Regions from separate parts of the Homo sapiens genome. Here all the other regions are linked to region 6. Evidence: promoter capture Hi-C in 16 types of primary human blood cells and fetal thymus (Javierre and others, 2016). All regions are on one chromosome and are shown on one strand. The core of a region is centred on a gene start or on the middle of the fragment in contact, and the rest is flanking DNA. Distances in the headings are between cores, read along the strand shown. Region 1 overlaps G2E3 (G2/M-phase specific E3 ubiquitin protein ligase). Region 2 has its middle 28 kb from the start of RNU6-8. Region 3 overlaps G2E3 (G2/M-phase specific E3 ubiquitin protein ligase). Region 4 has its middle 50 kb from the start of RNU6-8. Region 5 overlaps G2E3-AS1 (G2E3 antisense RNA 1). Region 6 holds the start of HEATR5A (HEAT repeat containing 5A). Region 7 has its middle 7.7 kb from the start of RNU6-8.

Region 1 (3,353 bases), core at 480-2,979, 850 kb before region 6:
TTTTTCTGCATCTATTGAGATGAGCATGTGACCTTTTCCTTTTTCTCTATTAGTATGGTATATTATATTGGTTGATTTCCATATGCTGAACCACCTTTGCATTTCTGGGATAAATCCCACTTGGTTATGGTACAAAATTTTCTTTATCAGAATCAGTTTGCTGGTAGTTTGTTAAGGATATTTGCATCTATGTTCATAAGAGATAATTGGCTTGTAGTTTTATTTTCTGTGATGTCTTTTTCTGGCTTTGGTATCGGGGTATTGGTGGCTTCATAAAATGAGTTAGGAAGTGTCATAATATCTTTTGGAGGGGTTTGAGAAAGATTGGTGCCAATTTTTCTTCAAAGGTTTAATAGGGTTCACCAGTGAACCCATCTGGGCTAGGACTTTATTCGTTGGGAGGTTCTTCATTAGTGATTCAATCTCTTGTTTGTAGATTTGTTGAAATTTTCTATTTCTTCTTGTCACTTTTGTTATTTGTTTAACCTATTGTTTAATTTGTTAACTTTTAACTTCTTAGAGTACAATTGTTCATAATAGTCTCATTTAATTCTTTTTATTTGTATTAGGTCTGTAGCAGTGTCCCACTTTCATTTCTTCTGATTTAGTAATTTGAGTCTTCTCTTTTTTTTCTCTGGGTCATCTAACTAAACGTTTTCAATTTTGTCGATCTTCTCAAGCAATTTTTATTTTATTGATTCTCAATTTAAAAATTTTTTTATTACATTATCTGGACTCTAAATTATTTCCTTCCTTCTGCTAGCTTTGGGTTTAGTTTGGTCTTTTTCTAGTTTCTTTGGGCATATAGTTGGGTCATTGTTTTGGGGGCTTGATTTTATTTGTCTCTAAGTATTTTCTAATTTCCCTTGTGATTTCTTTTTTGACTTTTTGTCTATTTAAAGTTGTTATTTAATCTCCATATGTTTCTCAGTTTTCCAGTTTTCCTTTTATTGATTTCTAGTTTCATTCCATAGTCATTGGAGAGGATATTTTGTGTGATTTCAGTCTTGTAAAATGTATTATTTTGTGGTCTAACATGGTATATCCATGGATATTGTTCCACGTGCATTTGAGAAGAATGTTTCATTCTGTTGTAGGGTGGAGTGTTCTGTATATGTTAAGTCTAAACTATTTCTCCTTTCATTTCTGTCAAATTTTGCCTTGTATATTTTGGGGCTCTTATTAGGTGGGTTTGTGTTTATAATTGTCATGTCTTCTTGATGGATTGAACTTTTTAGTCAGTCTTTAATGTCCTTTGAGTCCTGTAACAATCTTCAACTTAAAGCCTGTTTTGTCTGACATTAGTATAAACACCCAAGCTTACTTTTGATTACTGTTTGTATGAAGTATCTTATTCTGTCATTTTACTTTCCATCTATTTGTGTTTTGATATCTATAGCTTGACCCTAGTAGATAGTGTATGTATGGATTTTAAAAAAATTCATTCTGTCAACCTTTGCCTTTTAATTGGAGCGTGTAATTCATTTACATTTAATTACTGTTAAGGAAGGATTTCTGACATTTTAGTATTTGTTTTCTAAATACTATCTTTCTGTTCCTCATTTCCTTCCTTATTGCCTTTTGTTTAATTGATTTGTATAGTGTACCATTTTGATTCCCTTCTCATTACCTTTTCTGCACATATTTTTTAGTTATATTCTTAGTGGCTATCTTGGGGATTACAATTAATATCTTAAACTTATAACAACCTAGTTTGAATTAATACCCACTCAGCTTTCATAGTATACAAAAATTACACTTCTGTATATCTCATCCTTCTTCCTAAATGTTATTGTGTCAAATTACATTTTATATTTTTTGCTTATTTTACATTTATACATAATGTGCCCAATAACATTGATTTATATTTATTTTACGTGTTTTTCTTTTAAATCATAAAGGAAAAAGAGAATTACCAAAAGTGCAATAATACTACTGGCTTTTATATTTACTTCTGTAATTACCTTTACTGGTGTTTTTATTTCCTCGTATGGCTTTGACTTACTGTCTGGTGTCCCATTAGCATCTCTAGTAGGACAGATCTACTAAAAGTTTCCCTTTCACCCTAGACCCCAGGTCTACCAGACCTTCTGAGAAACAGCCATTCTTGTCTGTCTCCTGGATGATTTTCCAGAGAATATAAGCTTTTAAGAAACTTTTTATTGAGGTATAATATATATGCCAAATATATTTTAAGTACATAATTATGTTCATTGTAAAAAGTCAAACAATGCCAAAATTTATAAGAAATTAAAAGAAAAAGCCCCTACCCCTTCTCTCTCCCCAGGGATAACCACCATTAACAGTTAGGGACCTAAAAACTTTATGGTCTTTCTTGATCTCAGAAACTTCTGATCTTTCTGAATTCCTTTCACCCTTCCTTCTCTCCATCGAATTACTTCTCCTGCTTTGCATATAAGAACCCTAATAGGTAGGTATTATCATCTCCATTGGACACAAGGCAGAGCAAGGAGTTCAAACACAGAAAATGTATAATTCAAGTGTAATGTTCTTTCTGCCATGTTCCTCTGCCTGGGTCCTGCCTGGAATCTTAAAAGTTTAATTGCTCTGTCACATAAGGTAGCAGATACATTGTCCTGTTAAAATATAATTAAGGCCTTATTTTTTAGACAGGAGAAGACCTGGTTCTGTGGGAGTTGTGACAGAATAGCCTTTATTGCCTGAACTGTAGTAAAAAAGATGCCACCTGCTTTAAGAAGGGTACTTTGGATTGGGCTGGTTATTTAGAGCCTGACTTGGTCAGTGGAAGGGGCTAGGACTGGAATAAGACCTGCCCACGAAGTCAGGGTTAGGACCAGCTGGTGAAGGGGGGGGATTATATTACTTACTATCTGATAATCCAATCCAAGGAGATTTATATAATCCAACCAAATGGCAGAATCAGCAAGAGCAACTTCCAGAAGAAATTCCTGACATTCCCCAAACATCCCAGGCTTTCACACACTGTTGTACCTTTGCACACACTCTACTTAGAATGCTTTTTCTGCCTTGTCTGCTCAGAATATTTATTTTTCACAATTACGTTATAATATCACCACCTCTGTAAGGCTACACTGCATGTGTGTGAAATATTTGTTTACTTGCCTGCCTCCCATGTGAGTATGTGTACTCATCTTCACTTTTGAAACATAGTTTTGCTGCAGATAGGATTCTTTGCTTACAGGTTTGGGTTTTTTTCCTGTCTTTCAGCACTTTAAATATGTCATCTCACTGCCTTCTGGAACTCTATGGTTTCAAATGAGAATTTGGCTCTTAATCTTATTGGGGATATTTTGTATGTGTTAATCACTTCTCTCTTGCTGCTTTCAAGATTCTTTGTCTTTGTTTTTGTC
Region 2 (3,245 bases), core at 202-2,701, 810 kb after region 6:
GAGGATTTTGGCCTGAACTAGGCTAGTGAGTGGAGAAAAGTAGATGGATTCAAGAGAGGGAATTGGCAGGATGTGAGGAAGTTTGGGTGAGGAGGAGCAAAGGGTGAAGCATGATTCCCAGGTCTTTGATTTGGGCAGTGATGGAGTGTGGTGCCATCAATAAGACAGGGACCATAGAAAGAAATGGGTGAGGAAAGGTGGTAGAGAAAACAGTGGGTTCAGTTTTCTACAGTTGGAGTTTGAGGAGCTTGTGGGACATCCTAGAGATGTGTAGGTGGCAGTTGGATGAATGGACCTGAAGTTCTGAAGAGAGCTATCAATTGAAGTACAAATTTGGGAGTTTATGATGTAGATATGGGAATAGATATGGGAGTAGATGCATTTTTTCAAGGAAATACCAACATTTATTGTCTTGGCAGAAAGGGAGGTACAAAATAAACCTAACTGTGAGTAGCCAGAGAGCTAGAAGGCAAACACAGAGAGGCATACTTGGGGAATAGAGAATTTAAAGACAGAGGGAAAGGTCCACCTTCCTCACCTTTGGGTCATCCAGTCTCTAGGTTCCTAAATAATTCAGTGTGCTTTTGGTCAGTAAGTCCTAGAATAGGGGGGGGAAAAAGCATATCAAACCACTGCTGTGTGAATGCTATAGCCCTAGGTCATTGGTCTGTTTTATTTAAACATATCTAGGTTCTGCTCCCTCTGAGGATTTTACCTAATGTTAAAGAGAATGAGAAGAAATACTCTTTATACATTATAAAACTATGCTAATAGTAACCAGCAGGGAAATTGACCTATAAATACTCTGAGCACATTAAGGTAAGCACATTTTTTTAAAGTTACGTCTTTTGGCTATGGTCTAATGTGATGATTAGTGAAAATGGAATTGAAGAGTGACAGGAAATATTAATGGCAGGCAGCACACAGTCGTTTGGCCTTAGAAAGAACAACGGACTTTATCTGTTCCCAGAGGGAAAATTTGATGAGTAATGACCTTGATACACATTTTAAACACTCTGACAATGAAGTAATAGGTGCTGCTTTTGCTCTTTGACCAGCAGATTCTCCTTTGCTGCAGTTAGGTGTACTACTTAAAGCTTGTTTAGAGGGCCACCTAAGGGTACAGGCAGAAGCATCACAACATCTATATTTCTGTTATAGGCAGTGATGAGTACTATGAGCCTCTTATAAGAGGCTGCAAGGGGTTGCTGTACCATCAGGCCTACTTTCCTTGGAGAGGGAATAAAGCAAGTCCAAGGTGCTCAAGAAGGTACACTTTCCCAAAACATCCCACTCCCCACGTTGCTGATTAAGATCTAATGATTCACATTTAGATGCCCTTCCACCCCCATCCCCATCCTGACAACACAAAATTTGAGTCAAGCCTCAACCTTGCTAAGTAAACAGATTTGTACTTGTTACTCTTAGCAGCACTGGAGTCTAAAGACAGACTATGTGGGAAGGCAGATTCTTAGTTACCTCCTCCCCAAGCTGTTGCAGGAATTTCAGATCCCTGCTTGCCAAAGCACTTTTATGGGGTTAAGAATTTTTTTGTGTGTGTTGGGGATAGGGGAATGTACAGCCTTGAGTGACTCATGCCCTTCTCTGGGCCTCAGTTTTTCCCTGTTAGGAGGGAAAGGAGCTGTATTAGGGGATCCTTGAGTTTCCCTAAGCCTGGCCTGTATCCCCTCACCAACTGGATCCACGAGCCAGAGCCTGCTTTAGCCAGGCCCATTCTCTGGTTGGCTTGGCTGGCTTTAGAGGGCTGCAAATAGGCAAATCACTATTTGTCAGTCTGTAGAGAGGAAGCTTATTTGCAGTGGGAACACCGTAGGAGGAGATTTCTAAGTTGAAAATGCAGGTACTCCTCCTCTGGGGAATGGAAGAAAGACAAAGAGCCCATTAAGGGTTCTAGAAATCAGAATGGTTAGATTCTTCCTGGCCCTGTCAACGTTTGCCTATTACCCTGGCCTCATCGGTTGGCATTTGCTTGTGTGAAAAGGTTCCAGGTTTAGAGAAAGGGTGTCGGAGGCAGACAAACCTAGCTCTGTCACTTGGTTGTTGTGTGATCATGTATGAATTGCTGGAATTTCTGCACCTCATTTTCTTTTTTAAGGATGTTTCATAGGCCTGCAGGAGGACTAAATGAGATACATAATACATGTGAAACAGGAATGCAGAGCCTGGCATGGGAAGGGGTTACCTCCTTCCTCCTGCAGTCCTTCTCTTCACTTTCATCTTTGCTCACATGTTATTCTCCCTACTGGAAACTCACCTTCAGTGCTCTGTGAGGCCCTCCTGTCTGTGCCAGTGCTCAAGTCCTCCTGGTACCCTAGCATGCATTGCCTCACCTCACATTTTAGTAACAGCCTTCTTATATTCTTTCACTGGTTTTGCCCATCTAGATTACTGCTCTCTGAGGGAGGTATCCTGTCAAATACTGGTAATCTTTCTTCAATTCCTGGTAAGGTGTTAGGTACATAGTAGGGGCCTAAGCAATATTTGAATGAATGATTATAGAAAGAACCAGTTACAGAGAGCAAGAGGGGGCAGTATGGGCAGTGGGTAAGGCCTGTATGGATGCTAAAACCAGCCTGCCTGGGTTTGAATTCTGGTGCTGCCAGTTTTTAGCTTTGCAACTTTAAAAGAGTTGCTGAACTTTACCCCTCAGTTTTCTCATCTGTATAGTGGCAGTGGTAAAAATAGTACCTTTCTCCTAGGGTTATTGTGAAGATTGAGTAAGTTAGTATTTACAGTGTTTAGACCAGTGCCTGGCACTTAATGCTATATAAGAACCCACCATTATTATTTTAAAGATCAGACACGCTTGAGTTGAAAGCCTGCTCTACTACTTACTAATGATGTGACTGCAGGCAGAAATTATTCAACTTCTCTGTGCTTCAACTTCCTTCTCTGTAAAATAGGGATAACCTATCAACGTAAATAGTGATAAATAGAGATAAACTATCAACATAACATGTACTTGATAACTGGTGGCTATTAGAAGCCTGCTTCAGTCTCCTAGAAACAAGAGTTCAATCATGACTGCATGAAGAATCATTGCAGTAGCCCAGGCCCTGTTTAGGAAACTGAAAACCTGGAGCTTACCCTGACTGGGAAGGAGTGAGAAGACCTGAATTAGGAGTTGTGGATGTATTGAAGGAAGGGATAGGGAAGTTACTTTGTGCTGGTTGCTAAGCTGTATCACCAAAATCCTGACCAAATTAAGTCAGTAAAAATATATT
Region 3 (3,398 bases), core at 480-2,979, 820 kb before region 6:
GGCAGAGACACACACATACACAGGACAGAAATTAACATACGCACACCCACACAGAGGGATGATATGCCCCCACCTCTGGGGTAGGGATGATATCTAGTTACCTCTCTTGCCACTCACACACACGGGGAGCTAAATCTGTTTCTAAACAGAGAAGGCATAGTCATACCCAACAAAAAGGCTGGAGCCCTACACTACAGCCCACACTTGTAGTCATGGAGAAAATATGAATATGGACTGGCATACACCACATAACACAGTGGGGAAACATGGAGCTGGGAACAGATGACAGAGAATATAAATATGAGCCAGGTAGATCTGGATTCTGTTGAACTGCACAATACCTGAGGTGTTTGAGCAAGCTTATTTTAGGAAATATTCCTCACCTTGAAATTTACTGAATGTTTCTTCCATATCAGACACACTGACACAGCAATCTCCCTGTAAGCATAGTCATCTCTAAGTAGAAAGGAAAATTTATTTTCTCCCTCTTAGTCATATTTTGTCTGATGTTTATATTCTTTGTATGTGCATATACATACAAAATATTTGTTTATATTCTTTGTATGTGCATATGAGTGTGATAAGTTAGTTTTGGTTTTTACATTAGAGATATTTAGAGAAGCAGATAATCTTTTTCTTCCTTTAGTAAATCGATTGGGCGGGTGTGTGCGTGTTTGTGTGTAAGAAGGCAGGCCCTGTGGACATTGCTAGTGGTTGAAACTAGAATAATAACAAAATGTAAGTTCTGCTTTTCTTTGTGTCCTCAGCAAATGGGAAATAAAGCGCTGTCAGTGTTGTGGTTCCAGTGGCACACATTTAGCCTGCTCCTCATTACGGTCATGGGAGCAAAATTGGGAGTGTTTGGAATGTAGGGGTATTATCTACAATTCAGGTAATTTTTTTGTAATTTTGAATAAAGTTTTTATTCAAATGTATATGATTTAAAAGTTTTTACCTATATCTCTATTATGCTAACATGGAAATTTAAATCTGTAGGAGAGTTCCAAAAAGCCAAAAAACATGTATTACCCAATTCTAATAATGTGGGGATTACAGATTGTTTGTTGGAAGAGTCATCACCTAAATTACCCAGACAGTCACCTGGATCCCAGAGTAAAGATCTACTGAGGTATGTATTTTGAATTGGAGAAATACATAAAAATCTATTTGGAGAAAATTATGATAGGAAATGCCATATACATTTAGAATATTAGGTGATCATACAGTAGTCTAGAAGAATGTTTTTCAGCCTTCAGGACCCAACATTTGATCATGAAATCAATGCAACCAGCATTTTAAAGAAAATGAAATGGGATAGAATAGAATACAAAATACCAAACTGCATCATACGTGGGAAAAGTGTATCTATCCTACTGCATCATACGTGGGAAAAGTGTATCTATCCTAATTATTTTTTTGTGTACTGAGTAATGATGTAAAATATATTTTTTATTATAGATCACTTTCAAGATAGTTTGAAAAACACTGGTCTGGAAAATGTACTTAAAATGTTATTTGATTATAGAGTAAGACAGGAAAGTAAAATATCAAGCATACCGTGTCACCTTATTAAAAGGAAAGAATCCTATTTAATATAGAAATTTTTTTTTCTTTTTTCTTTTTTTTAGAAATAAAGTCTCGCTCTGTTACCCAGGCTGGAGTACAGTGGCATGATCATGGCTCACTGCAGCCCCGACCTCCTGGGCACAAGTGATCCTCCCACCTGAGCCTACCAAGTGGCTGGAACTACAGATGCATGCCACCATGCTTGGCTAATTTTTAAATTTTTGTAGAGATGGACATCTTGCTATGTTGCCCAGACTGGTCTTGAACTCCTGGTCTCAAGTAGTCCTCCCACCTTTGCCTCCCAAAATGTTGGGATTACAGGTGTGCGCCACTATGCCCTGCCATTTTTTGATGTTATAATCATTGTTTGCCTGTTTACTGTCAATGGCAGGAGTCTAAATGTCAGCTCTTCCCTTTAGAAAGTTTAAGGCATACATACTATTATCAAATTAATTTCTGTTCCCATGAGACAAAATAGGCCGGGCATCGTGGCTCACGCCTGTAATCCCAGCACTTTGGGAAACCTAGGCGGGCGGATCCCGAGGTCAAGAGATCGAGAACATCCTGGCCAATATGGTGAAACCCCGTCTCTATTAAAAATACAAAAATTAGCTGGGCATAGTGTTGTGCATCTGTAGTCCCAGCTACTTGGGAGGCTGAGGCAGGAGAATTGCTTGAACCCAGGAGGCGGAGGTTGCAGTCAGCCAAGGTCGCGCCACTGTACTCCAGCCTGGTGACAGAGCCGAGACTCTGTCTCAAAAAAAAAAAAAAAAGGTAGCAAAATAATAAGTTACTTTCAAAATCTTAAACATTTAAATAAGACTGGAATTACATCTTTATAATGTTGGGTATTTGTTCAGCTGTAGTTAAGATTTTTAAGTTTATATAGATTTGCAAAAGAGTTTTTAGAGCCTTGCTTTACCCAATAGGGAAGAAGTAGAAAATTAGTCGCTAAGCATGATGAAATACTTTCTTGTTAAAAATAATTTCAGGCTGGGCATGGTGACTCATACCTGTAATCCCAACAGTTTGGGAGGCTAAGGTGGGAGGATCATTTGAACCCTGGAGTTCGAAACCAGTCTGGGCAATATTACGAAACTCTGTCTCAACAAAAATATTTTGAGAAAATAGCCAGGTATGGTGGTGTGCACCTGTAGTCCTAGCTAGGCAAGAGGCTGAGGTGGGAGGATCATTTGAGCCCAGGAGTTCAAGCTGCAATGAGCTATGATCATGCCACTATACTCTCACCTGAGTGACACAGCAAGACCTTGTCTCTAAAAAGTTTCAAGTTTAAAACCTTAGAAGATAGTAAAGAGAATTTTTGTGAAAACATTTGATAACTGGATTTGCAGACAGGTAGAATATTAAGTACTCTTTCAAAATGTGAAGAATATCTGTTTTACTATGCCACTTGTGTTAGCTCTACTGAAAAATCTGTTACAAATATTGTTATAACACTTTTAGTATCAAAATAGATGTTCACATTATTTTAAAATAATTTTAATATTGAGATTTCCAAAGACGCTACACCAGGGAAGCTTGACTCCTTGCTCCTGCTTTAACATGCAGTCATATTTAGAAGAATAGCATCAGCATTCCCCTGATCCAGGCAGGAGCAAGGAATCAACCTGCTATAAAAAAGGTATGTTTCTGAAGAATTATCTTACTTCCAAAGGACTTTCGCTTTTATTCAACATGAGTTAATGAAGAGAGGATCATAAGAAAAAAGAAAAAGCAAAACCTGGCCTACACTAGGGCACTGTAACGTCTTGGGGTGGGACAGATTCATACTTGGTATGGAAAATGATCCATGGGCATTGCCCAAAACAAGA
Region 4 (3,150 bases), core at 8-2,507, 830 kb after region 6:
TGAAAGGCCAAAAGCCTTTTTGATGTATGTGAGAGCTTTCTCTGTCATATGGGGTCTACCAGTCATTTCAGCAAAGAGTTAAGTGAGGCCAAGGAGGCTTCCCTGGCAGCTTGGAAGCTTTGTGCAGCAGCCAAGCCGCGGGCTGAGAGAGGTGGATACTCATTTGTTTGTATATAAAACTTTCATTCCCAAAGTCTTAGATATCACATACAAGGAAAGATGATTGTGAAAATCAGTGATAAACTCAAGTATTTCTCGCCTGTTATGATTGCATTTGTTGTATCCGATTCTGCCTGACAGTATTTGCCACTTGATTGTCTAAACAGAGTTTTAACTGGTAGCAGGGTGAGCATTAATTATTCACATCTAGCAGCTGGCATAAATATGATTGTGTAGGCCCATGTATGTTAATGAGTCTTACAATAAAGCCTTTCGCTTGGAGATCTTCAGCCCTCCCTTCTTTTTGTACCATTTGTGAACTTCATTCTGGAATTGTGTGGCTTGGTAAGGTATAATGTTCTTTGCTTCTGAGGAACTGTGCTGAGGGCTTGTGCAGAGAGTGGCCCATCTAGAAATGTCTCTCAGGACCCTGAAGGCTCCCTTGTTTCCTTTTCCTGTTTCCAGTCGGGCTACAGCAACTGGGTCTGGATATAGCAACAGCACCCCCTAGTGTATTATAGGGTGAGCATGGGTTCCTGGTTAACTCAGTAAGGTGAGGTGTTCTGGCTTCATAGAGTGGAGTGTGAGAAACTGGCAACTTGGCATTTATTAAACAATATAGTTGAGGCTAAATATGCAACAGCAGCATGTCTTCCAGGTTTTGACAGCTGAGAAAGGAAGATAAAGACAGCAGGAAGATAGGGTTTTAGATTACTTTACAAGGATATGAAGGCTAAGGAGAGCCACAGGAGGGAATCAAGAGGTCACTGGGGAAGGGAGCTGTTCCAATGAATAGTTTGCTATTCTTCCAAAGAATCCAAATCTTGGCCATATGTGCAGAAAGGCCTGGCCACAAAGGCCTTCCATTGTTGGCTGAGACTGGAGACCTGCGATGGGGGTTCAAAGCCTTTTGTTAGATGTGAAACTGAAATTCCAAACACTCCAAGCAGTGACTTAAAGGCTACGAAAGTATAAATGACAGGTAGATATTTACCTCAGAACATAGTTTTGATTAAGGAAACTAGACCTTAAGAGAACAAAATGGGGGTGGGGATGGACTATAGAGAGAAGAAAAGAGGGATGCTTTCTTCATTTTGTTCATTTAACGAATATTTGCTGTTGAGCTGCTATTCAGTGCCAGCTTCTATTCTACATACTGGAAATACAGATGTGAATAAAACAGAGTTTCTCTCCTCATGCAGCTTACATTCTTTACAGTTGCCAATAAGCGGGTCACTACAGATCAGTTCTTATGTTTGTATTTTTGAAGTGTGATTTATTTACAGGCAGAATGTGATTTGAGGACATGGAAAGTACCCATCGTTCAAAATTGTTCCCCACCAACCAACCAGTTTTTTTCTGAAATTTCTCAACCAAAACCCCTTGTTAGTTGTTTTCTGAGAGGAGTAGTAATGAATCCAGTTGCTTTGACCTACACTTACTTCTAGTGAAAATGAATGACCTGATGAGACCTAGAGGGATGGGACACTGGGGGGTGGAATTACAATATTGGGACTAGCAAGCTGTAGCCTTGGTGAGTTTGTTTCAGGACCAAGTTTTCCTTATCTATAGAAGTAGCTGTATTCCTGTCAGGTCCCTTCTAGCTCTTATTCTATTTTGTGTGGCAGATAGCATCCAAGAAGATGTAGGACCGGGTGCGGTGGCTCACACCTGTAATCCCAGCACTTTGGGAGGCCGAGGCAGGCGGATCATCTGGGGTCAGGAGTTTGAGACCAGCCTGACCAACATGGAGAAACCCCGTCTCTACTACAAACACAAAATTAGCCGGGCGTGGTGGTGCATGCTTGTAATCCCAGCTACTTGGGAGGCTGAGACAGGGGAATTGCTTGAACTCGGGAGGCGGAAGTTGCAGTGAGCCAAGATTGTGCCATCGCACTCCAGCCTGGGTAACAAGAGCGAAACTCCATCTCAAAAAAAAAAAAAAAAAAAGAAGGTGTGTAGAGCATGGGGCACCCCTGGGACCCCTGGAAAATTATTTGGGGGTAGGAGTAGGACCAGATTAGACACTGAAAAAAAACATGGAGAAGGAACATGATTTGACAGTCAAATTTAGGCTATTTAAAAAAATATTTCTAGGGCATTTATTCTTGGGTTCAATTTCTGACTATAAATTATCTGGAAGGGAGGGTGATACTATGAATATGGTTTTTGCAGATTTTTTGGGAAAGCCCAGTTGGTTTTACTTTTGTGGGTCAAATTAGTTTTGAAGATTATCTATAAAGCTTTCAGTGATAGACCTGACCCCCAAGCCACAGCTGCTTAAATAGCTGTGTGCTGTGGATTTTCTTGTTGTGCAGTGTTTCCTTTTAACTTTCCTGTTCAGGGCAGAAACAGAGTAATGCAGGCCCATATTCTTTGAATCCTAGAGAGCAAGTGACCTACTTACTATTGTACCTGAAATATTCAACTAGAGTATATTTTAGGAAATACTTTTTCAGCTTTAAACATGACTTTGCTTCTGTGAATAAACACTTCAATCGAGAGACACTGACAGGTATTCTGGGCTGTTCTCCTGACCCGTTGTGTAACTTTGGATACTGTATGACTTTTCTCCTTGGAAAGAGGCAATGTAAAATCCATGGGTTTCTTTAGAAAAGACAATTTGTAACTACACCCTTATAGGTGCATGTGATGAAGATTAGTGAAAGTTTTCATTGGGTTTAGAAATTTTAGAAATGCAGGAGGCCGGGTGCGGTGGCTCAAGCCTGTAATGCCAGCACTTTGAGAGGCTGAGACAGGAGGATTGTTTGAGACCAGGAATTTGAGACCAGCCTAGGCAACATAGTGAGACCTCATCACTACAAAAATTATACAAAATTAGTCGAGAGTGGTGGCACACACTTGTAGTCCCAGCTACACAGGAGGCTGAGGTGGGAGGATCTCTTGAGTCCGGGAGGTTGAGGCTGCAGTGAGCTGCGATCATGCCACTGCACTCCAGTGTGGGCGACAAAGTGAAATGCAGGAGTTATT
Region 5 (3,013 bases), core at 291-2,790, 870 kb before region 6:
ACTGTCATTTCTTCCTTTAGTTCTTTGAGCATCTTTAAGACAGTTGTTTTAAAGTCTTTGTCTGTCTAGTAGATCTGCCATCCAGTCTTTTTCAAAGATAGTTTATTGTTTTTTTCCTTTTGAAAAGACCATACTTTCCTGTTTCTTTGTATGCTTTGTGATTTTTTTGTTGTTGTTGAAAACTGTATATTTGCATCTAATAATGTCGTACCTTTGGAAATCAGGTTCTCTCCCTTCCCTAGGTTTTGCTGGTGTTTTGGGTTTTATTATTATTTTTGTTGCTGTTATTGTTATAGGTTGTGTCTGTGCTGAGGATCAGCCTGAGGTTTAAACTTAAGGCCTTCTCTGGTCTTTGCTGAGCCTGCACCTTCACCTGGGCGTGTGTGGTGACTTTCTAGTTTTCCTTACATATGCAGTTGCTTTTGAATGTCCTAGTCTTCAATGTCTTACTTCCATAAGGGGAGACAGAGAAAAATAACAGGAGAGAAAAGGCTCTGCCTCTTTAAATCTCCTGGATATTACTTTAGCCAGAGGAGTGGGAGGGTTTGCAACAATGGGGGTTAGTGCAACCGTAATGACCACCACCTCTTTTTCTATACCTCTGTGATCAGATGCAGCAATCAATGATCACAGCACAGATCCCCAATATTTTTAGGACATGGTCCTTTTTGCCTGTTCTGGTTCCTGCAAGCTGTGTGCAAGCTGCTCCAGAAACATATTCACAGCTGCCCACTATTGGGCTGAAGGGTGGGACTGTTATTTAAAATAACGTTATGAAACTACATGCTAACATAAATATTTGTGTTTTCTAAAACAAAAATAATTTAGTGAGAAGAATGGCATTGTTTTACCTTTATATAAATCTCTCTGGTGGATAATTTAATATAAAATCACTGGATTGGCTGGGCACAGTGGCTCATGCCTGTAATCCCAGCACTTTGAGAGGTCAAGGCAGGCAGATCACAAGGTCAGGAGATCGAGACCATCCTGGCTAACACGGTGAAACCCTGTCTCTACTAAAAATACAAAAAAATTAGCGGGGTGTGGTGGTGGGTGCCTGTAGTCCCAACTACCAGGGAGGCTGAGGCAGGAGAATCACTGAAACCCGGGAGGCGGAGGTTGCAGTGAGCTCAGATCACGCTGCCGCACTCCAGCCTGGGTGGCAGAGTGAGACTCCATTTCAAAAAAAAAAGAAGAAAAGAAAAAGAAAATCACTGGATTTTCATATCAGTTTCTGCATTCAGTCTGTTGCAATATCACACCCCATGCAGCCTCTGGAAAACTCTATTGTACACTTGTGAGAGAATATAAGTGAAAAGGCAAACGGTCTTAGTATTATTTTGAAGATAGTTTGACCTCATGAACCACATTTTGAAAATTGTTGATCTAATTCATCCTTCAGTCTAGTACTAAAAAGTCGTCTCTGTACTAATATTAACAAAGCTTCTACCTAATACTAGATGATATCTGAGGTTCTTTATTAAACTAACGTCCTACAGTTCTATAGATGAACAAGCAAATTTCTCACAAAAAAAAACTTTGCTATTAGCTAATTGTTTTAGATTAATATTAGGTTTCTTATCACTGCTCCTATCTCTGCTGGGTGTGTGAATTGAAATATTGTAATGGAAAATGAACAAGCTTTGTGTCCAACCAAACAAGCTATAGTTAAAATACCAGTTCTGCCTACTGTGGCCTTGGACAAATTATTTAATCTTATTAAGCCCTAGTTTCATCACCTACTTTGTCAAGATTAAGTAAATCAACATTTAGTTTTAGCACAGTGTTTTGAATGTAGAAAGCATTAAACAAATGTTAGTTCCTTTTATGTTTTTCCAATCATATACCTTTTATTAGTTAACCTCACCTACAGGAAGACTCATTGCCCCATTATGACCACTGTGGGAAGGCTAAAGTTTAATATCTATTACTGTACAATACCTAAGAAGTGAGTCAACTTGGAGATACTAGACTTGCAAACCCAAACAATTTAAAAAATTGTACAGGGGTTAAATAGCAAACATTACATCAAACTGCCCTGAAATTCTCACTATTTCAGCTACAAATATGACCTATTAGAGCTAGTTTATTAGCTCTTTCTATAAACATGGATTAACTCAAATCACTACCAAGGTGGAAAGTAGACAGCAGGTCACTAAGGAATGTATCATATGTTCTGAAGGGCAGAGAAAAGGAATATGAGGCTAAGATCCACCTGGGAGGAGAGTTCCTTTGTGCCTTTCAGTGGCTCACAAGCCTAAGGATACTGGGCATGGAATGCCAGATGCCATTGAAAGGAGAAGGAAGGGGATGTTAACTGTATGTCTTACCCATTTGCCTAATTATAATTACCATTAAATGTCCTCTCACTTAGAGCTCACAAGAAACCTGTCAGGTAGTTATTATTTACATCTGATTAATGTGTAGTGAAGCTCAAAGGATTGGGTACTTCATACTTAGCTAGTAAGTAAAACGGCTAGTATTTAAACCTCAGCCTGTTTTGCTTTCAGGTTCGCCTCTTAACATTGCACTACTTACTATCCTTGAAAAATGTTTCCTAAAGAATGGCCCTAAGTGTTGAAGCTAAACTTTGAGCAAGTGCCTGCTTCCTAAGTGATGATTCTGTGCCCTAGACCTTTGTGAGAATTTGAAGTTTTCTTTCACCCCCAACAAAACACTCAGGTAAGGATTGGGCTTATTATAACTGAGTCACTTTATCAATTCAGTTGCGGAGTCATTTTCCGCAAGTATTCTGGGAGGGATTAAAAAATCAAAGTACACAAACTGAAAACAGTTTTGATTGCCAGCAATTGTATCCAAGAATGTTAAAGATTCAGTTCAAGCATGTTGTTCATTACTTGATTTATTCTGGGTGGCATTACCAATGTGTGTTCCTGCATTTGGAGTTACTCTTAACTGTAAAGAGGCTCTGATTTCTATGTAAACACTTCAGGCCAAAAGACAGCAATTTTAAAAAGCAATCCAGACAATCATTTGTTTGAAACACCAACTT
Region 6 (3,427 bases), core at 304-2,803:
AGAATTAAAAAGGTACTTTGGAGTCATGTATTTTCTGTGACTAAAGTCAGATACAATAATGAATAATACTAAAAAAGTGACCTAATCTAACATCCATAAATAGTGGAGGGAACTTAAGCTAGAATTCAGGTCTCCTGACTTTCAGGTGAGGAGTCTTTTCTTATTCTCCTATTCTATAGTCATCTAGGTAAAACAACTGCATTCCAAGGCACAACAAATCCATACTACAGTATTCTCCAACTGTCACTATTCTTATATTATAAATCCTGCCTGCTTATCAGTGAAGAAAAAAAAAAAGTCAATGGCATTAAAATGTAACACAAATCTCGGCTTCGATACTTTATCTAAAATTACTTTCTCAAAGACATACTTTCTAAAATGTTTGGAAAATTAAACAAAATTCTCCTCTCCCCATCCAACTAATGCTCAATTCTAACCACACTTCTGCTTTCCCTACAGCTTAAGTAATTTCACTGGGAGTATTTTCTCTGGAAGTTCTTAAGTGTACTTGTGGGCCCCTTTTTTTCCTCCTTAAACTTCTAATATCTTTCAGGCTGTAAATTCCTTAAGGGCGCCTAGCCCCAAAAAAGTGCTGCATATTTGTTCAATAAATGAATGCACATAAAAACAATGGATAACTATGACCTTTAATGTAGGAGCTCAAGCCATTTTATTATTATCTGACTTGACAGTCAAGAAAATTATCCCAACTTGCCAGAGGTATCCATTACTGTGATAAATAAACACTATAAAACGCTTTATAAAGTTTCTAAAGACTTTATAATCACTTGAAATAACGCCGCGTTGGCCGAGAGTAGGGTGAAAGAAAATGTTTCCTCACACTAAGCAAATGCCACCAAAGGAAAAGCTTTCTTTCCTGGAGAGAACTGCAACAGTTAGAAAGCAAATATCCACACTCTCCACTGCTCCCTTCTGGGAACTCTCTTTGAGGGTTCCTGCAGAAAACGAACGGGCCTCTGAGGAAGCTCGCCCGAAGGCCGGGCCGGGGCCCGGCTCCTGGCTGACCACTGGCGCAGCGGACGCCGCAGGGCGGGTCCCGGGAGCGGCGAGTTGGCGAGGCGGGCTCCGACTTGCTGACCTTCCCCACACGCCCGGCAACCCCGGCTCCCGCTGGCGGGCAGAGTCCACGCCTACCTGTTGTGCACAGGTGAAGCCAGACTTTCCCGTAGTCCAGGAGGAAGAACGGACCACGCTGTTTATCAGCCGACCCTGTGCCCCAGTCAGCCCCTTCTCGGCGGACTCCAGCCCTTAGGGTCAAGACACCTAGCCCCTCGACCGGTTCTCCCACCGGCTTCTTTCGCGATCACATTGCTGCCGCGACCACCCTCGGGATCCCCGAGCGCTCAACTCATACAGCGGCCCTGGTGCGTTCTCCTTCCCAGCCAACAGGCAGCCCAGACACAGCCCCCTCGCGCCCGGAGGTGTCCCCGCTCCCTGGATCCCCGACTGCCTGCCTTTGGGGGTCCTCCTCAGCTGAGCGTGCGTCCCGGTCCAGCAACGTTACCGGCTGCTCTGCTAACCCTAGCAGAGTCTGGAATTGCCGGCGGCGGCGACAGCGAGGCATTGAGGTGGGCGGGGCGCGCGTGGGGCGTGGCCGGAAAGCTCTCAGCGGCGAGCACCGCGGGAGCTAGCGATTGGGAGCGCGCCCTGCGCCGGGCCGCTGGTCCAAGGCCCCGCCAGCTGGCCGCCGAGCCATCGAGCGCCCACTCTGGCAGGCGTGACTGCTTCACCGTCGAAAGAGCGATGGAGACTGCGGCCCAAGTTAGGATTAGGACAGCGGTTTTTCAGTCCGGAGATTCCGGCCACAACTATTTTTGTCTGTTTTTATCGTAAGCCAGAGTCTTTGGGTGCAGCTCTGGGACACCTAAAGGGCCTGGAGAAATTCAGGCGGGGCCAGTGCTGTGGGGGTAGATGTTAGACGTGGAAGGGACCCTAGAGAGCCTTGACTGTGAGGACTGAGGTAAAGTGACTTGCTCAAGGTCACATACTAAGTCAATGGCAGAACTGAGACTAATAGCCTCTTACCTTGAGTCATGTGCGTTTTCCCACTACACTCAGCGTTTTAAATGTCATTTTTCAAGTTTCATTTTGAATCTATCTCCAGCTTACAAAAAGGTTGCAAGTATAGTACAAAGAACTTTTTTTCCCTGAATTGAGATTTAAATTGCTGACACCATGCCACATTGTCCCTAAGCACCTTCTACATAATCACAATATAACCATCAAAATCAAAACATTTACATAACTCGGCGTTTTACCAATTGTCCCAATAATATTGTTTATGGTAAAAGATTCCGTTCAGAATCAGGCATTGTATTTACTTATCATGTATCTTTCCTACTCTTCAAACTGGAACTCTCAGTCTTGCCTTGCCTTTCATATTCTTGACGCTGTTAAAGATTCCTGGCCAGTTATTTTTGTAGAATGGCCTTCATTTTGGGTCTGTCTGATATTTACTCATGATTACATTTAGCTAGGTATGACAGGACTCTAGAAGTGTTGCTGCTTTCTTCTCATGGCACCCTATCAGGTGGCACGATTTTAACTTCTCTCATTACAGATGTTTACTTTAATAAGGTGATGTCTGTTAGGCTTGTCCAGTGTGGTTACTTTTTTCCCCCCTTTGTAAATTAATAAGTATTTTGTGAGGGAGACTCTGAAACTCTCCTTTCAAGATATTTGTAAATATCTTGTTTCTCATCAAATCTTCAGTTAATGTATTTATATTAATTAGTATGGATCCAGAGGTTTCTATTTTGTTAAATGACTTATAATCCGTTTCTTTCTCTCTTTTCTCTCTCTCTTTTTTTTTTTTTTTTTCTTGAGACAGGGCCTCCTTTGTTGCCCAGGCCGGAGTGCAGTGGCTATTCACAGGTCGATAATGCAATCATGGTGCACACTACAGCCTTGAACTTCTGGGCTCATGTGATCCTTCTGCCTCAGCCTCCCAGGTAAGTAGCTGAGACTGCAGGCATGCACACCACCACACCAGCCAATATTCTGTCTCTATCATTATTTATTTTGATGCTCAATTATCCCAAGTTTGGTGGGTAGGGGCCCCATTCATTCTATCTTCTGTGATATGTGTGTGTGTGTGTGTGTGTGTGTGTGTGTGTGTGTTCAATTTTTTTTTAAGACAAGAAGACAAGGTCTCATATTCATTCTAGCTTCTGTGTTGTGTGTGTGTGTGTGTGTGTGTAATTTTTTTTTTTTTGAGACAAGAAGACAAGGTCTCACTCTGTCACCCAGGCTGGAGTGCAGTAGTCTGATCACAGCTCACTGCAGGCTCAACCTCCTAGGCTCAGGTGATTCTCCCACCTCAGCCACTCAAGTAGCAGGGACAATGGGTGTGCCACTGTGCCTGGCTAATTTTGTTTGTTTGTTTTTGTTTTTGTAGAGACAGGGT
Region 7 (2,971 bases), core at 1-2,500, 790 kb after region 6:
ACTTTTCTCTGCAAAATAGAAGTTACTTTGGTTAAAAGTGATAGTTACATGGTTGACTACACTTAGAAACAGCTATTTCAAAGAAATATAACTCTGTATGTGCTTCTGTTTTTTTCCAAGGAAAACAGTAGTTTTGTCCTAAAGTAGCAGCATGAAATTTTTCATATTACCTTATTTTCTTTTAATCTTTGTAGTATAGTATATGTAGTGTAGTCTCTTTCATTGCTGATGTTGGTATTTTGTATTTTCTCTCTTATTTTCTTGATCCATCTGGCCAGAAATTTATCAGTTTTATTACATTTTTTGAAAAACCAGTTTTTGGGTTTTTTGGAAACCCAAAATAGAATTGTTCATTTTCTGTTGATTTCTGCCTTTTATTATTTCCTCCCTTTTGTTTACTCTTGGTTTAATTGCCTCTTCTTTCTCTAGTTTCTCATGGTAGAAGTTTAGATTGTTAATTTTAGACCTTTTTTCTTTCCTAATACAAACATTTAAAGCCATACATTTCTTTCTAGGCACTACTTTAGCTAAATCCTACAAATTTTATTGTACTGTGTTTATATTTTTAAATATTTTTCTTTGTCACATGGGTTATTTAGCCAACTTAGTTGATAATGTTCAAATCATGCATATCCTTATTTTCTGTATATCTTTCATCAGTTATTCAAAGAGGACTGTTTAAATTTCCAGCTGTAATTCCAGAGTTCTCAATCTGACCTTTCAGTTCTGACATTTTTTTCTTCATGTATTTTGAAGTTCTCCTGTTACATACGTATTTAGGATTGCTGTGTCTTCTTGATGAATTGATTCTGTTATCATTATGAAATGATCCTCAACATTCACAACTACTAAGATTATTCAAATGGATTTTCAATGATTTATAAAAACAGATTTAAAGCAGAAACACAACTTGCATTTTGCCAAGTCATATTCCCTTTATCCTGCTTTACTTTTTTCGTGGCAGCTCTTTCCATCACACACGTATTTATTTCTTTGCTTGCTTTCTGTCTTCCCCAACTAGAATAACATTTCCAAAGAGCAAGACTTCATCTGTTCTATTTATTGCTGTATTCCAACTGTCTACAACAATGCCTGCCACAAAGTCTGACCTCAATACTTTCTGAATGAAATAATGTATAATAAAGTCACACAACTGTAACAACATCTTTCCATGACTCTACCTCACTTACTTCATGGTGAGACAGGGTTTGCTCACATGGGGGCGATTTCAGAAATAACTTCTACACCGTGATGTCTTCTCATGCTGCTCTTCAGCGCAATCAGTATCACAAAACAATGTTGTCTTGGGTTCTCAGGGTCTTAGGAAGCTATTAATGAGATTATTCTTTGAAATTAACTTTTTTTTTTTTTTTTTGAGACGAAGTCTTGCTCTGTCACCCAGGCTGAAGTGCAGTGGTGTGATCTCAGCTAACTGCAAGCTCCGCCTCCCAGGTTCATGCCATTCTCCTGCCTCAGCCTCCCGAGTAGCTGGGACTAAAGGCGCCCACCACCACACCTGGCTAATTTTTTTGTATTTTTAGTAGAGACAGGGTTTCACCGTGTTAGCCAGGATGGTATTGATCTCCTGACCTCATGATCCGCCTGCCTCGGCCTCCCAAAGTGCTGGGATTACAGGCATGAGTCACCACGCCTGGCCTGTAATTAACTTTTTAATCTTAGCCACTTCTACTCTAGCTAGGTTTAACCTGAATCATTCTAGAACAGTGGGTCTGAGTGACACACACCCCTGGACTCCTATTATGAGCCTCCACTCACTTCTTCCCCTGGTGGCTGTTCAGGCCCTCCTACATGATCGCCTCTATGGGCCAGCCTCACTGCTTCTAGGAATGGCTCTGTATATTCCTGGGTTGTAAAGGTGGGTAGGAGTTAATTTCTCATGCTAGGACCCAAGGTGCATAAAGCCTTTACATTTCACATCTCTTTATTGACGCTGTGATTTCACTCCCCCCATCAACTCTGTTCATTCACACAGCTCATGAAGGTTTTTGTTTACCAAGAAGTCTAAGTTTCAATCTACCAAAAAAACTGAGGCTGCCCCTGTTGTCATATTTGATAGTGTTAATTGCAAGTAAAACACTTATTAATCAAATCTTCCTGTCCAATTATTTTTACAGAGTGAAAAAAATTTCTTTTTAATTAATTGTGTGTTTTGGGTGTCATGGAACGATATTTTGGTCTGATGGTCAGAATTCAAACCCCAGTCCCAGCCCTTGAACAACCCACATTCTCTTATGAAATGGGGATAATAACTACCCTGCTTGCCTTTTAGGGTTGACAGAAAGATCTGTGAGAAACGCTTGTGCCTTTACATTGCAAAGCATAGCAGGTGTGTAAATTGCTGTTGTTGCGGTGAGAAACTTTTCAGTTTTAAGGTTTGCGGTGATTGGAATTTTTTAAATTTATTTTTTATTTTAGTTTTTTTTTTTTTTTTTGAGATGGAGTCTCGCTCTGTCTCCAGGTTGGAGTGCAGTGGCACGATCTTGGCTCACTGCAACCTCCGCCTATTGGGTTCAAGCAATTCTCCTGCCTCACCCTTCCGAGTAGCTGGGACTACAGGCACATGCCACCACACCCAGCTAATTTTTGTATTTTTAGTAGAGATGGGGTTTTACCATGTTGGCCAGGATGGTCTCATCTCTTGACCTTGTGATCTGCCCACCTCGGCCTCCCAAAGTGCTGGGATGACAGGTGTGAGCCACCATGCCCGGCCGGATTTTTATAATTCATTAATTCAAAAACATTTGGGCATTTGCATCAGAGACCTTCACTACATCCTGAAGAGCACTTGCCTACAATTCTTAAGCTGAGGAATACAACCCAGTAGTCAGCTGTTATCTTGGAAATTATGACCAGTTAAAAACAACAACATTGGAAAGGAAACGGTGTAACTTTAAGGGAAAGCAAACTTAGGGCCAGTCACCTTCCCTGCCACCCAAAGCTTAGAATATTA

What was found. The method cuts DNA at HindIII sites, captures the fragments that hold promoters and counts their contacts. A CHiCAGO score of 5 or more calls a contact.
Region 1: a contact is called between a fragment that was not itself captured here and the fragment with the promoter of HEATR5A in region 6, in 2 of 17 cell types (naive CD4 T cells and activated CD4 T cells). The highest score is 5.8, in naive CD4 T cells.
Region 2: a contact is called between a fragment that was not itself captured here and the fragment with the promoter of HEATR5A in region 6, in 1 of 17 cell types (activated CD4 T cells). The highest score is 5.3, in activated CD4 T cells.
Region 3: a contact is called between a fragment that was not itself captured here and the fragment with the promoter of HEATR5A in region 6, in 1 of 17 cell types (activated CD4 T cells). The highest score is 6.5, in activated CD4 T cells.
Region 4: a contact is called between a fragment that was not itself captured here and the fragment with the promoter of HEATR5A in region 6, in 11 of 17 cell types (M0 macrophages, total B cells, total CD4 T cells and 8 more). The highest score is 8.4, in M0 macrophages.
Region 5: a contact is called between a fragment that was not itself captured here and the fragment with the promoter of HEATR5A in region 6, in 2 of 17 cell types (total CD8 T cells and activated CD4 T cells). The highest score is 5.2, in total CD8 T cells.
Region 7: a fragment that was not itself captured here is called in contact with the fragment with the promoter of HEATR5A in region 6 in 4 of 17 cell types (activated CD4 T cells, non-activated CD4 T cells, total B cells and 1 more); the score reaches 7.7 in activated CD4 T cells.

Annotation. Positions count from the first base shown.
Region 1 is chr14:30,566,915-30,570,267 of GRCh38, forward strand. All of the region lies in intron 1 of G2E3 (G2/M-phase specific E3 ubiquitin protein ligase), which reads left to right. The region is part of intron 2 of G2E3-AS1 (G2E3 antisense RNA 1); the gene reads right to left. Among named protein-coding and RNA genes, the nearest start is that of G2E3-AS1, 8.8 kb to the right of the region's middle. The HindIII fragment of the contact is 825 bases long and covers 1,318-2,142 here.
Region 2 is chr14:32,229,367-32,232,611 of GRCh38, forward strand. No RefSeq gene overlaps it. Among named protein-coding and RNA genes, the nearest start is that of RNU6-8, 28 kb to the left of the region's middle. The HindIII fragment of the contact is 712 bases long and covers 1,096-1,807 here.
Region 3 is chr14:30,601,003-30,604,400 of GRCh38, forward strand. G2E3 (G2/M-phase specific E3 ubiquitin protein ligase) reads left to right here. Exons shown (of 15, transcript NM_017769.5): 9 at 768-892; 10 at 997-1,129. Among named protein-coding and RNA genes, the nearest start is that of SCFD1, 20 kb to the right of the region's middle. The HindIII fragment of the contact is 2,745 bases long and covers 358-3,102 here.
Region 4 is chr14:32,251,608-32,254,757 of GRCh38, forward strand. No RefSeq gene overlaps it. Among named protein-coding and RNA genes, the nearest start is that of RNU6-8, 50 kb to the left of the region's middle. The HindIII fragment of the contact is 2,285 bases long and covers 116-2,400 here.
Region 5 is chr14:30,548,592-30,551,604 of GRCh38, forward strand. The region is part of intron 3 of G2E3-AS1 (G2E3 antisense RNA 1); the gene reads right to left. Among named protein-coding and RNA genes, the nearest start is that of G2E3, 9.1 kb to the right of the region's middle. The HindIII fragment of the contact is 198 bases long and covers 1,442-1,639 here.
Region 6 is chr14:31,418,997-31,422,423 of GRCh38, forward strand. HEATR5A (HEAT repeat containing 5A) reads right to left here and starts at 1,554. Exons shown (of 36, transcript NM_015473.4): 1 at 1,476-1,554. HEATR5A-DT (HEATR5A divergent transcript) reads left to right here and starts at 1,762. Exons shown (of 4, transcript NR_110045.1): 1 at 1,762-1,981; 2 at 2,848-2,972. RefSeq lists a silencer at 1,015-1,134 and enhancers at 1,245-1,294, 1,725-1,874. The HindIII fragment of the contact is 6,619 bases long and covers 867-3,427 here.
Region 7 is chr14:32,209,441-32,212,411 of GRCh38, forward strand. No RefSeq gene overlaps it. Among named protein-coding and RNA genes, the nearest start is that of RNU6-8, 7.7 kb to the left of the region's middle. The HindIII fragment of the contact is 3,413 bases long and covers 1-2,957 here.